4 separate regions of the Homo sapiens genome follow, and all the other regions are linked to region 3. The links are contacts of gene promoters, found by promoter capture Hi-C in blood cells and fetal thymus (Javierre and others, 2016). All regions are on one chromosome and are shown on one strand. Each heading gives the region's core, a stretch centred on a gene start or on the middle of the fragment in contact. The rest is flanking DNA. Distances are from core to core; before and after follow the strand shown.

What was found. The method cuts DNA at HindIII sites, captures the fragments that hold promoters and counts their contacts. A CHiCAGO score of 5 or more calls a contact.
Region 1: a contact is called between a fragment that was not itself captured here and the fragment with the promoter of CA14 in region 3, in 9 of 17 cell types (endothelial precursors, M1 macrophages, megakaryocytes and 6 more). The highest score is 13.4, in endothelial precursors.
Region 2: a fragment that was not itself captured here is called in contact with the fragment with the promoter of CA14 in region 3 in 1 of 17 cell types (M1 macrophages); the score reaches 5.5 in M1 macrophages.
Region 4: a fragment that was not itself captured here is called in contact with the fragment with the promoter of CA14 in region 3 in 6 of 17 cell types (neutrophils, M1 macrophages, naive B cells and 3 more); the score reaches 9.2 in neutrophils.

What each region holds. Positions count from the first base shown.
Region 1 is chr1:150,513,914-150,516,613 of GRCh38, reverse strand. It overlaps FALEC (focally amplified lncRNA regulator of ECM1), which reads right to left and starts at 862. Exons shown (of 6, transcript NR_186305.1): 1 at 552-862. RefSeq lists a silencer at 668-1,037 and enhancers at 1,128-1,277, 1,348-1,417. The HindIII fragment of the contact is 2,789 bases long and covers 1-2,689 here.
Region 2 is chr1:150,572,943-150,575,642 of GRCh38, reverse strand. MCL1 (MCL1 apoptosis regulator, BCL2 family member) reads left to right here. Exons shown (of 3, transcript NM_021960.5): 3 at 1-1,085. ADAMTSL4-AS1 (ADAMTSL4 antisense RNA 1) reads left to right here and starts at 1,091. Exons shown (of 4, transcript NR_104133.1): 1 at 1,091-1,519; 2 at 1,822-1,984. The HindIII fragment of the contact is 2,255 bases long and covers 287-2,541 here.
Region 3 is chr1:150,256,328-150,259,109 of GRCh38, reverse strand. It overlaps CA14 (carbonic anhydrase 14), which reads right to left and starts at 1,336. Exons shown (of 11, transcript NM_012113.3): 1 at 927-1,336. The coding sequence starts at 981. RefSeq lists an enhancer at 2,452-2,782. The HindIII fragment of the contact is 8,593 bases long and covers 1-2,782 here.
Region 4 is chr1:149,959,712-149,962,411 of GRCh38, reverse strand. OTUD7B (OTU deubiquitinase 7B) reads left to right here. Exons shown (of 12, transcript NM_020205.4): 7 at 2,616-2,700. Among named protein-coding and RNA genes, the nearest start is that of MTMR11, 24 kb to the right of the region's middle. The HindIII fragment of the contact is 2,620 bases long and covers 55-2,674 here.

The DNA.
Region 1 (2,700 bases), core at 46-2,545, 260 kb before region 3:
CAGTGAATGTTAACACGTTCACCTTTTATTGCTAACAGCAATGCTACCCGTGCTTCCAGGCTCTATCCAAACTCACTGCTTCCAGATAATAGCTGGCTGGTCCCTAGGGAGAATTCTTTAACTCTCAGCATTTGATGCTCAATTCAGTACCTCCTCATATTCAGCACTGTAGCTTACAAGTGCTCTCCGGGTTCCCTTCCTCTCCTCCCCGACAGACTAAACTGCTAGGGTTTGGGACCGCAGTCCTCCTCTCCTCTGACTCCCACCTCTCTGCAGCATTTGGCGCTGCACTTTGCAAACGCAGCTCTAAAGCATCTCCGGGAAGCTCCTGCACAGACCAAAGCCCCCCCGCTCCCTTTTTTTTTTTGAGACAGAGTCTCCTCTCTCGCCCAGGCTGGAGTGCGGTGGCGCGATCTTACTGCAGCCTCCGCCTCCCGGGTTCAAGCAATTCTCTGCCTCAGCCTCCCGAGTAGCTGGGATTATAGGCGCCCGCCACCACGCCCTGCTAATTTTTTTTTTTTTTTGTATTTTTAGTACAGACGGGGTTTCACCTTCTTGGCCAGGCTGGTCTTGAACTCCTGACCTCGTGATCCACCGCCTCGGCCTCCCAAAGTGCTGGGATTCCAGGCATGAGCCACCGCGCCCGGCCCAAAGCCCTTTAAAGACAAGTCTCCGCTTGCGGATTCGCCCGCCAGGTGACAAGGCTTCGTGGGCCAGGACTCCGCCCGCTCCCCGTGGGCTGGGGCGACCCAGGCCAGGAGGGTACACGTGGGACCGGGGGGTAGGGGAATTGCTGGGCCGGCCTTTTCCCCCTGCCTCCCCCGGTTCCTCTGTCCTGGAGGCCGTAGGAGATGCGCAGGACGCCCGCACATGCGCAGTGTCACTCTCGAGCTCCAGACTCGAGCGCGGCGGGCAGGAGGCCCAGGCGGCCCCGGGCTCCCGAGACTGGGCTGCCGGCTCAGGGGCGGGGCACAGCGCTGCCCTCGCCCGCTCATTGGCTCGCGTGCTGACGGACAGGTGGGGCGGACAGCCGGCGAAAGATCTGAGGAGCCGCTGGACTGGAAACTGCTACTGGGCTAAAAATACTTAAGTAAATAAATGAAAGCCTGTGGAGGAGGAGAGGAAGGAGAGGCGGGCGTGGGTTTGGGAGCAACTGAGGCTCCGCTTGCCCCTGGCTGGCGCAGGATGATGGTTCTTGGTTCACTCTCTCCGTCTCCGCTAGAACTGGAGCGGAGAAGTCTGCTTTCTGGAAGGTCGTCCTGGCGGCGGAGTCACACAGGACTTGTTCCCCTGGGACTCTTCATTCCGAGTCTTCATTCCGATTCTTTCAGATCCAGCCTTGAGGCCTCGGGTTCCTGGGAGCAGCTTTGTAGGGCTTGAGAGTCCTAGTCACCGCCACCCTCGGGTCCAGCTCAGGTTGGGGGCTACAGCTCCGTCCCTCCGGCACTTGGGACGACACTCTTTGAACTGGCCTCCCAGCGTCCCGCCTTGCTGGCTGCCGACTAAACTTTTTTTTTTCTTTTTGAGACTGGGTCTCGCAGGTTGAAGTGCAGTGCCGAGACCATAGCTCTTTGGGTGGCTGGGATTACAGGCGCGCGCCACCTCCCCGGCTCTCCGACTAGACATTATTTTATTTTATTTTATTTTTGAGGCACAGTCTCGCTGTGTCGGCCAGGCTGAGTGCAGTGGTGCGATACTGGCTCACTGCAACCTCCACCTCCCAGGTTCAAGTGATTCTCGTGCCTCAGCCTCCCGAGTAGTTTGGATTATAGGTGGGCACCACCACGCCTGGCTAATTCAGTAAAGATGGGGTTTCACCATGTTGGTCGGGCTGATCTCGAACTCCTAACCTCAAGTGATCCGCCCGCCTCGGCCTTCCAAAATGCTGGGATTACAGCGTGAGCCAGTGCGTCCGGCCTAGACATTCTTAAAAGGCAAATTGGAACACATCCTCCGCTTGAAAACGCCAGTGCCCCCTGGGCCAGGGCACCAAGATCCACTTAAAACCCTGCGGGTGAGGCATTAGTGATGAGCTCCTGCTTATCATTCCAGCCATATCAGAGAGGAAGGCCACCAAAGAGTCAGGTCCTTTCAGCCTTGACCCTTGTGCGCACTCTGCCCGCTCACACCCTCTACTTCTTTACTGGAGAAACTCTGACCTCAACGCCCCTCCTGTGCACCTGTGCTGCCCCCAGCCCCACTCCCACCTCGGGACGTTCCTGTCATGCTCAGAGCACGCTGGGGGCCCTGTACCACAACACTTGTCACACCTGCTAGGCTCAGGGACAGTGAACAACCTCAGGGCAGGGGCTGTGTGTGTTCTGGATGTGTATCCCCAAGTCTAGCAGAGTGTGCATAGATAGGGGTTCAATAAATGGATATTGGCCAGGCACAGTGGCTCACGCCTGTAATCCCAGCACTTTGGGAGCCTGGCCAACATGGTGAAAACCCGTCTCTACTAAAAATACAAAAATTAGCTGGGTGTGCTGGTGCACGCCTGTAATCCCAGCTACTCGGGAGGCTGAGGCAGGAGAATCGCTTGAACCCAGGAGGGTTGCAAGTTGCAGTGAGCCAAGATCGTGCCACTGCACTTCAGCCTGGGCGATAGAGCGAGACTGTGTCTCAAGAAAAAAAAAAAAAGGATATTGAATGAATGAAGGCATGAATTCTAAGGATCAAAAGTGAAGCTTTAAAAATGTT
Region 2 (2,700 bases), core at 165-2,664, 320 kb before region 3:
TGTGACACTAACAGTCATTGAGAGGTGGGAGGAAGTCCCTTTTCCTTGGACTGGTATCTTTTCAACTATTGTTTTATCCTGTCTTTGGGGGCAATGTGTCAAAAGTCCCCTCAGGAATTTTCAGAGGAAAGAACATTTTATGAGGCTTTCTCTAAAGTTTCCTTTGTATAGGAGTATGCTCACTTAAATTTACAGAAAGAGGTGAGCTGTGTTAAACCTCAGAGTTTAAAAGCTACTGATAAACTGAAGAAAGTGTCTATATTGGAACTAGGGTCATTTGAAAGCTTCAGTCTCGGAACATGACCTTTAGTCTGTGGACTCCATTTAAAAATAGGTATGAATAAGATGACTAAGAATGTAATGGGGAAGAACTGCCCTGCCTGCCCATCTCAGAGCCATAAGGTCATCTTTGCTAGAGCTATTTTTACCTATGTATTTATCGTTCTTGATCATAAGCCGCTTATTTATATCATGTATCTCTAAGGACCTAAAAGCACTTTATGTAGTTTTTAATTAATCTTAAGATCTGGTTACGGTAACTAAAAAAGCCTGTCTGCCAAATCCAGTGGAAACAAGTGCATAGATGTGAATTGGTTTTTAGGGGCCCCACTTCCCAATTCATTAGGTATGACTGTGGAAATACAGACAAGGATCTTAGTTGATATTTTGGGCTTGGGGCAGTGAGGGCTTAGGACACCCCAAGTGGTTTGGGAAAGGAGGAGGGGAGTGGTGGGTTTATAGGGGGAGGAGGAGGCAGGTGGTCTAAGTGCTGACTGGCTACGTAGTTCGGGCAAATCCTCCAAAAGGGAAAGGGAGGATTTGCTTAGAAGGATGGCGCTCCCAGTGACTACTTTTTGACTTCTGTTTGTCTTACGCTTCTCTCAGGGAAAAACATGCAGTCCTCTAGTGTTTCATGTACATTCTGTGGGGGGTGAACACCTTGGTTCTGGTTAAACAGCTGTACTTTTGATAGCTGTGCCAGGAAGGGTTAGGACCAACTACAAATTAATGTTGGTTGTCAAATGTAGTGTGTTTCCCTAACTTTCTGTTTTTCCTGAGAAAAAAAAATAAATCTTTTATTCAAATACAGGGTGTGATATGGGTCTTTTCTCATCGACGCCTCTTTTTCCTTCCCTCTCTTAGGCAAACCTTTTAGAGAAGTCAGCTGAGCAAATATGTACAGGTGAATTCAAAGCAAAAGCCTCACAAAGTTGATTTGCCTTAGAGCAAAGGACAGTTCCTTTCTTCAATTCTAATTAGAGGTGTTGGGTTTTTAATTAAATATATTACTGCTGTACTTAGAGGAGTTCTTAAACCTCCAAGTAAAATCAAAAACCTCTTTAAAATCAAAATTTCTGTCTTGATTTATTTATTTATTATTTTTTTTTTGAGATGGAGTTTTGCTCTTGTTGTCCAGGCTGGAGTGCAATGGCACGATCTCCGCTCACCGCAACCTCCGCCTCCCAGGTTCAAATGATTCTCCTGCCTCAGCCTCCTGAGTAGCTGGGAATACAGGCATGCGCCACCACACCCAGATAATTTTGTATTTTTAGTAGAGATGGGGTTTCTCCGTGTTGGTCAGGCTGGTCTTGAACTCCCGACCTCAGGTGATCTGCCCACCTCTGCCTCCCAGAGTGCCAGGATTACAGGCGTGAGCCATCGCACCCAGCCTCTGTCTTGATTTTTTTGAATCACCAGGTGTTGGTATGTTTTGTTTTGTTTTGTTTTGAGGCACAGTCTCACTCTTTTGCCCAGGCTAGAGTGCAGTGGGGCAATCTCGGCTCACTGCAACCTCAGCCTCCCGAGTAGCTGGGATTACAGGTGCCCGCCACCATGCCCGGCTAATTTTTCTATTTTTGGTAGAGACGGGGTTTTGCCGTGTTGGTCAGGCTGGTCTTGAAGTCCTGACCTCAGTGATCCACTCGCCTCAGCCGAAGTGCTGCGATTACAGACCTGAGCCACTGCGCCCAGCCTTGATCTTGAGGTAAGAGGGTACTGTACAGCAGTTACTCTATCATAACACCTAAATAATACCTAAAGTTAAAGAGTTTTGATGAAGTTCTTGGCAGCAGTGCTTTTCCCCTTCTGCTTTCCAAAAGGAGGTAAAAAGAAGCCAGTCAATTTCAAAAACCCCTATCCTGCTTTTATTTTCAGCTACCTTGAAAGTGAGCTGAATCACCATGGAAATGTGCAAATGTGAGGTTTGCATACTTGGTTTTAAGCCCTGAGCACCATATGCTAATCAGGCAATCAGGATTCTGTGCCTCCCTGCAGTCAGTTGCATTTCTATTTAAAAGTGCATTTTGGTTTGGAAGCCCCTTTCTGGAGCCTAACTACCAAAAGGCAGCAACTTTTTGTATCATTACAAAGAAAGCTGTGTAAGTGCACTCCCAAGCAAAGGTGTGGTAGGAGAGTAGCAGCCACAGAGGACCCAAGCCCAAGTCTTGGCCTGAGTTAAGTTAGTGCTATTGCTCCCATTGACGTGCTATGATGTGAAGCCGTTTCTGGTACAGTGTTCCTTTGCTCAGCACCTTAAAAGCTTGGATTTAATAGTAACTGGGTAACCTTAATCAGTAGTCAGAATTATCAACACTTTGCTTTATTTGACACAACCAGACTTTCTCAGTTCCTGTTCTGTATCTAGAGCAACGTCTTCATACTGTTTTTTCACAAAATTTTTATTTAAAACAGTTGTGACAG
Region 3 (2,782 bases), core at 87-2,586:
CCCCAACAACTCAAACTCCCTGGTCTGTAAAGGTGCCTGTCCACTCTGGTCAGAGCCTCAACACACTTATTCTGTCTCTTCCTCCTCTTTCCCTCTTTTTTTCTTTCTCCTCAGATGAGATTTGTGACTCTCCATTTGGCTGCCTGCCTGCCCCCATCCTCTCTGCATTTGCCTTCTGCTCTCTGGACACCCACCTCACCCTGCTCTTTCCACAAACCTCAGTTACACACCTAGTATGTGCTGGACACTGTGCTAGGCACAGGAAACACAAAAATGAGGTCTAGGAGTTCCTGGGGACACTCCTGGAGCGCTTCAGCCTGTTCTCCCAAGAATCCCTCCTCATCTCCTGGGAGCTCCTGAAAGTCCTTTGTAAACTGTAAAATGTCAAACAAATGTTGACTCTTACTGCCACTTTCAGAGGATAACTGGGGAGTTAGTCGCTCCACAGAATGAAGAGGGAATCTTGGCCAAAAGGGGATGAATTGGAGATCAGGGTCTGAGTTGGGCAGGAAGTATTCTTCCCCCTACCCCCATCTATCCATCTTTTTACTCCAGGCCTCTTTGACTCCCTATTTGGAGGAGTTTGTAAATAAAGAAGTCCAGGAGTCCTGCCTGGGACCAGGGCAGTGGGGGAAAGAGCTCTGGAGAAAATCTGTAGCCTGCAAAGAGATTCCAGCACTTGCATGTGTACACACTCTGCCTGCCTGCCGCTAGTTCTCCCCGACCTCCAATAACAACAAGGCTGGAGAGACAAAAGGTAAAGAAGGGAAGTGGTCTCCTCCACACCCCACTCTTTTTTCCTCATCTCTGAGCCTATTATTCCAGCCTCTAGGCTTCCTTTCACACCTCTCCTCCCCCCATTAAGCACACCTGGCGACATGTGAACATCAGCACAAATCCACACACAGACATTTAGTTGTACCTACCCCCATCTGCAGCCAGGATCCAAATCACCTCCAGCAGGAGGGCGGAGAACAACATAGTGTCCCAGGAAGGGGTGCAGGGGACTGGGAATTTGAGGACTAGAGGACTAGGACAGGCAGAGAGAGAGGGAGGGAGGAGTGAGAGAGAGAGAGAGAGAGCGAGCGAGCTCCTGGCGTGAGTGTATTTATCTCTGCTTCTCTTGCTGTCTCTGTCTCTGTGGGCTTCCAGGGGATTCGGTGTTCAGTAGGGTATCATGGGTTTCTGGATCCCCAGGACAAATCTCTTGCTGCCTCTTTGCCCTCTCTCTTTATCTCCCTCTGCAGTCTCCACTCCACTAGCTGGCCAGCGACTTTACAACTGCCTCCTGCTTTTAAGGTGGCTCTGAACTGGTGTATGTGGGGACGGGGGTGCTGCCTGGGCTGCTGGTGAACAGCTCCTTAAATAGCCAATTAGGCATGCAGGATGGCCCCACTCGGAGCTGGAGCGCGGCAAGTTTCACTGGAGCCCTGGCCCTGGCTCAGGAGCCCAGCTGGGGTGAGCTCTTCCTTCCTCTGCTAGTCACACAGATGCTGTTTAGATGGGTGTTCCCTGGAGCAGGCAGGGTCAAGGAAGGGGCTTTGGGGTTCAACTCAGCCCCCTCAAAAGGACACTGTATTTTCATCCCCCCGCCTGATTTCTCCTCTGAGGAGCAGCTCCCTGGGTGGTATGCGGCAGATGGTGGGGGTACCTGTTCCCAATTCCCTGCATAATCTGAGCTGCCCTGGAATGGGAAGAGTCCAGAATTAGGAGATATATAACAAGAAGGAATTAGGGACTCAGGGTGCAGGGGAGGGGTGGAGGAAGTCAATAACTAAAACCTGAGTTGTGTCCTAAGTTCTAAGGAAGAGAAGTGAGGCAAGGAGAACTCATCTGGAGCAATCTCTTCTGTGCCTGCCACCACCCCCTTCCCACGGTGAGGCCTGGGTCCACGTGCCTGTGTGGCCTGGGGTGGGGGGAGTGCGGGGAGGGAGCGTTGTTTGCTGGATAAAGCCCATTTGTATGCCCAGTGGGGGAGGGGTGTAGCAGCACCATGGAGAGACAGCGGCTGTAACTGCCAGACCCAGCCACCTCCCTCTCCAGGGAGCCCAGATCTAGGGCGGCTTTTGTCACTGAAGAGGACACTGACCTCCGGCAGAGAGGCCAGGGCAGGAGGAAAGGAGAGACTTTAGGAACAATCACTACCACCATCAGAAAAAGGTGGTTTCCAGAGAAAGAGAGGGGAGGGTCTGGAGAGACCATGTGATCCAGATGGAAGAGGGGCTCAGGGTCTTCCTTCCAGCCCAACAAAGGGCTGAGGCAGGACATGTGGCACTGAATGAAACCTGCCACCAAGGAGCTGCGTCCGTGGAGCATGGAGGCTGCACGTCTCAGGAATGTGAACTGATGTTTGCTCCCCACGGGACTGGAAATCCCGATTGGAATGTACATCCTAAATCCCTCGTTAGAGAATGTGAAACCCACAGATACTTTCAAGCCAGACATTGAAACCTCTTTCTCCTCCATGCTCTTCACCAGAGGCACCAGCCAGGAGGATGCACCCATCTGAAGCTCCCTCTGCCCTCCTTGCTCCTGCCGAGTAGCAATAAATAGCCAAACAAAGGGAGCAGAAGCTAAATAAGGGAGCAGGATAAAAGCCAAATGAACAGAATAATGCATGTGCTGGATCATCAGCTCCTGCAGAGACAGGAGCTCACTGTGCCTTTCTATCCCCTGTGATTGATCTGCAAAGCCAAGCCATTTTGCTGATGTCATTTCCCTTTTTCTTCTCCTATCACCCTCTGAGTTATTTGTCCCCTTCAGGAAAGTTTTATGTTTTGAG
Region 4 (2,700 bases), core at 115-2,614, 300 kb after region 3:
TTACCCACCTTGGGAGTGGGAATGGTAGGAGGAGGATAATGAACTGGGGAAGCTTCCTTTAGCTCCCCAGTACCAAAACCACACTAAATAAGTTTTGATTTCCTGGGCTTCCTTGTTTTATGTTGAAATTGGTGGTGAGGCTCAGTAATAGTTTCTTAAATGTTAAGGCTAGAAGTTGTACACCACCTAGTGGCTGTGTACATTAAAACAGGAAGCAGAAACCGGCCAGGAAGAGGGAGCCGGATCTGGATGTGTCTATTGGAGTGACTGCAGCACTCCATATAGAACCTGGGCATTGCTCTCTTTATTTTTAATTGAAGTAAAATTTGTGATAGCATTTTACAAATTGAAAATAGCTGTGTCATTTAAAAAATTCCCATTAAATTTGTTCCCAGTACCCCTCATGTTTCCAGTGATTTCCTTCTACTCTGTCAGTGTGCGGTTAAGCCGTATAGACTCATTTTAATACTAATGTCAGCCAAATAAAATTAATAAGTTAAACTTATTTCCCTTATCATTATATACATCCTAAAGCCAATGTATTTTAAAATTGCTTGTACCATTGCCTGCTCTCCTTTGATAAAAATTGTAGTTTCACTTAGCATATGTTTATTGATTATAGTCACAAAATAGACCTTGGGTGTATTGCATAAAACATGATCCTAGCATAGAGGAGGAGATGGACATGTAAATACATAATTGCAACAGGTTATAACATGTATGACTCTTACAATAGACGTCTCTATAGCAGTTAATGCTGGCCGGATGCGGTGGCTCATGCCTGTAATCCCAGCACTTTGGAAGGCCAAGGCAGGCGGATCACCTGTTGGTAGTTCGAGACCAGCCTGGCCAACATGGTGAAACCCCGTCTTTACTAAAAATACAAAACTAGCCAGGCATGGTGGTGTGCACGTGTAGTCCCAGCTACTCCGGAGGCTGAGGCAGGAGAATTGCTTGAACCTGGGAGGTGGAGGTTGCAGTGAGCCAAGATCATGCCACCACACTCCATCCTGGGTGACAGAGCAAGACTTTGTCTCAAACAAACAAACAAAAAAACAACAACAACTCTATAGCAGTTAGGGAGAGAGGATACAAAGGAAGGAGTGGTTGATCTGCCAAGGGAGATTTAGAAGACTATTTGGAGGAATGATACCTGAGTTCTGTCCTAAAAGTTGAGAAATTGTTCACAAGGTTGACAGAAAGTGAGCTACTCCAGGCAGAAGGAACAGCTTAGACAAAAGCTCAGTGGTATAAAACAACATGGTATATTTCAGGAACTACAGCTGATTCAGTGAGATATATCTGACTAGAGAAGTGGGTAGGGGCCAGAAAGTAGGCTTTGTATGCAGCACTTCTACTTGGGAGGCTGAGGCAGGAGAATTGCTTGAACCCGGGAGGTGGAGGTTGCAGTGAGCTGAGATCGTTCCACTGTACTCCAGCCTGGGCGACAGAGTGAGACTCTGTCTCAAAAAAAAAAAAAAAAAAAAAGAAGGTATCCAGGTGTGGGGTGGGTGAAAGAAAGAAAGGAATATTAGATAATTCCTTGGTTTTGAGCTTGGATGTTTGGGTGATAGTTGGTGCTATTCACTAAGGTAGGAAAATAGGAAGAAGAGTGGGTTTGGGAAAAAACAGGAGTTCTATTTTGACTTTACAGAGTTTGAGGTAGCCATGGGCAGGTGGCAGTCTCCAGTAGGTAGCTGGATATATGAATATAGAAATTAAGAAGTCTAGGCTGAGTGCAGTGCCTCATGCCTGTAATCCCAGCATTTTGGGTGGCTGAGACAGGCAGATCACCAGGTCAGGAGTTCGAGACCAGCCTGGCCAACATGGGGAAAGCCCGTCTCTACTAAAAATACAAAAATTAGCTGGGCCTGGTGGTGGGTGCTGTAATCCCAGCTACTCGAGAGGCTGAGGCAGGAGAAGCATTTGAACCCGGGAGGTGAAGTTTGCAGTGAGCCGAGATTGTGCCATTGCACTCCAGCCTGGGTGACTCTGTCTACAAAAAAAAAAAAAAGAAAAAAAGGAAAGAAAAGAAAAAGAAAAGAAATTAAGAAATCTGGGCTGGAGATAGATGGTATATACCATACAGATGGTAGTGGATGAGATTATGGCAGTAGAAGAGATCACCCAGAGGGAACCAAGGTGAAAATCATTGACACACCACTAGTATTTTGGGGGCAGACAGAATTTAGAGGAATAGAAAGTAATTTTATGGACGCTAATGGCAAAGAAAATTTAAAGAGGAAAATAACCCATGTGAAGGCTAAGATGGGAACCAGGGTCCACTGAATGTGGCAATTAGAAGGTCATTGTTCTTTGCCAAAATCAGGTAGGTGAAATGTTATGTGGCAGGTGGGTGAGCAGGATGGAGGGCAGAAATGGGACAGATTGCAGTAGGTCAAAAAGAATGGATGATAAAGAAGTTTAATAGTCATAGACTATTAGTTCATGGATCTTGACTGTAAAAGAGATAAGAGATTTGACTTTGTAGTACAATTTGTAAACCAAGTGCTAAGGGATTAGGGAGTAAGTAACAGTGAATAAGGTGGAATAGGTATTGCCTCTTAGAACCCAGCCTCTAATTGCCCAATGTCCCCTGCCTGTCCTTCACACAGTCAGGGCTGGTATACACAGAAGATGAATGGCAGAAGGAGTGGAATGAACTGATCAAGCTTGCCTCAAGTGAACCCCGAATGCATC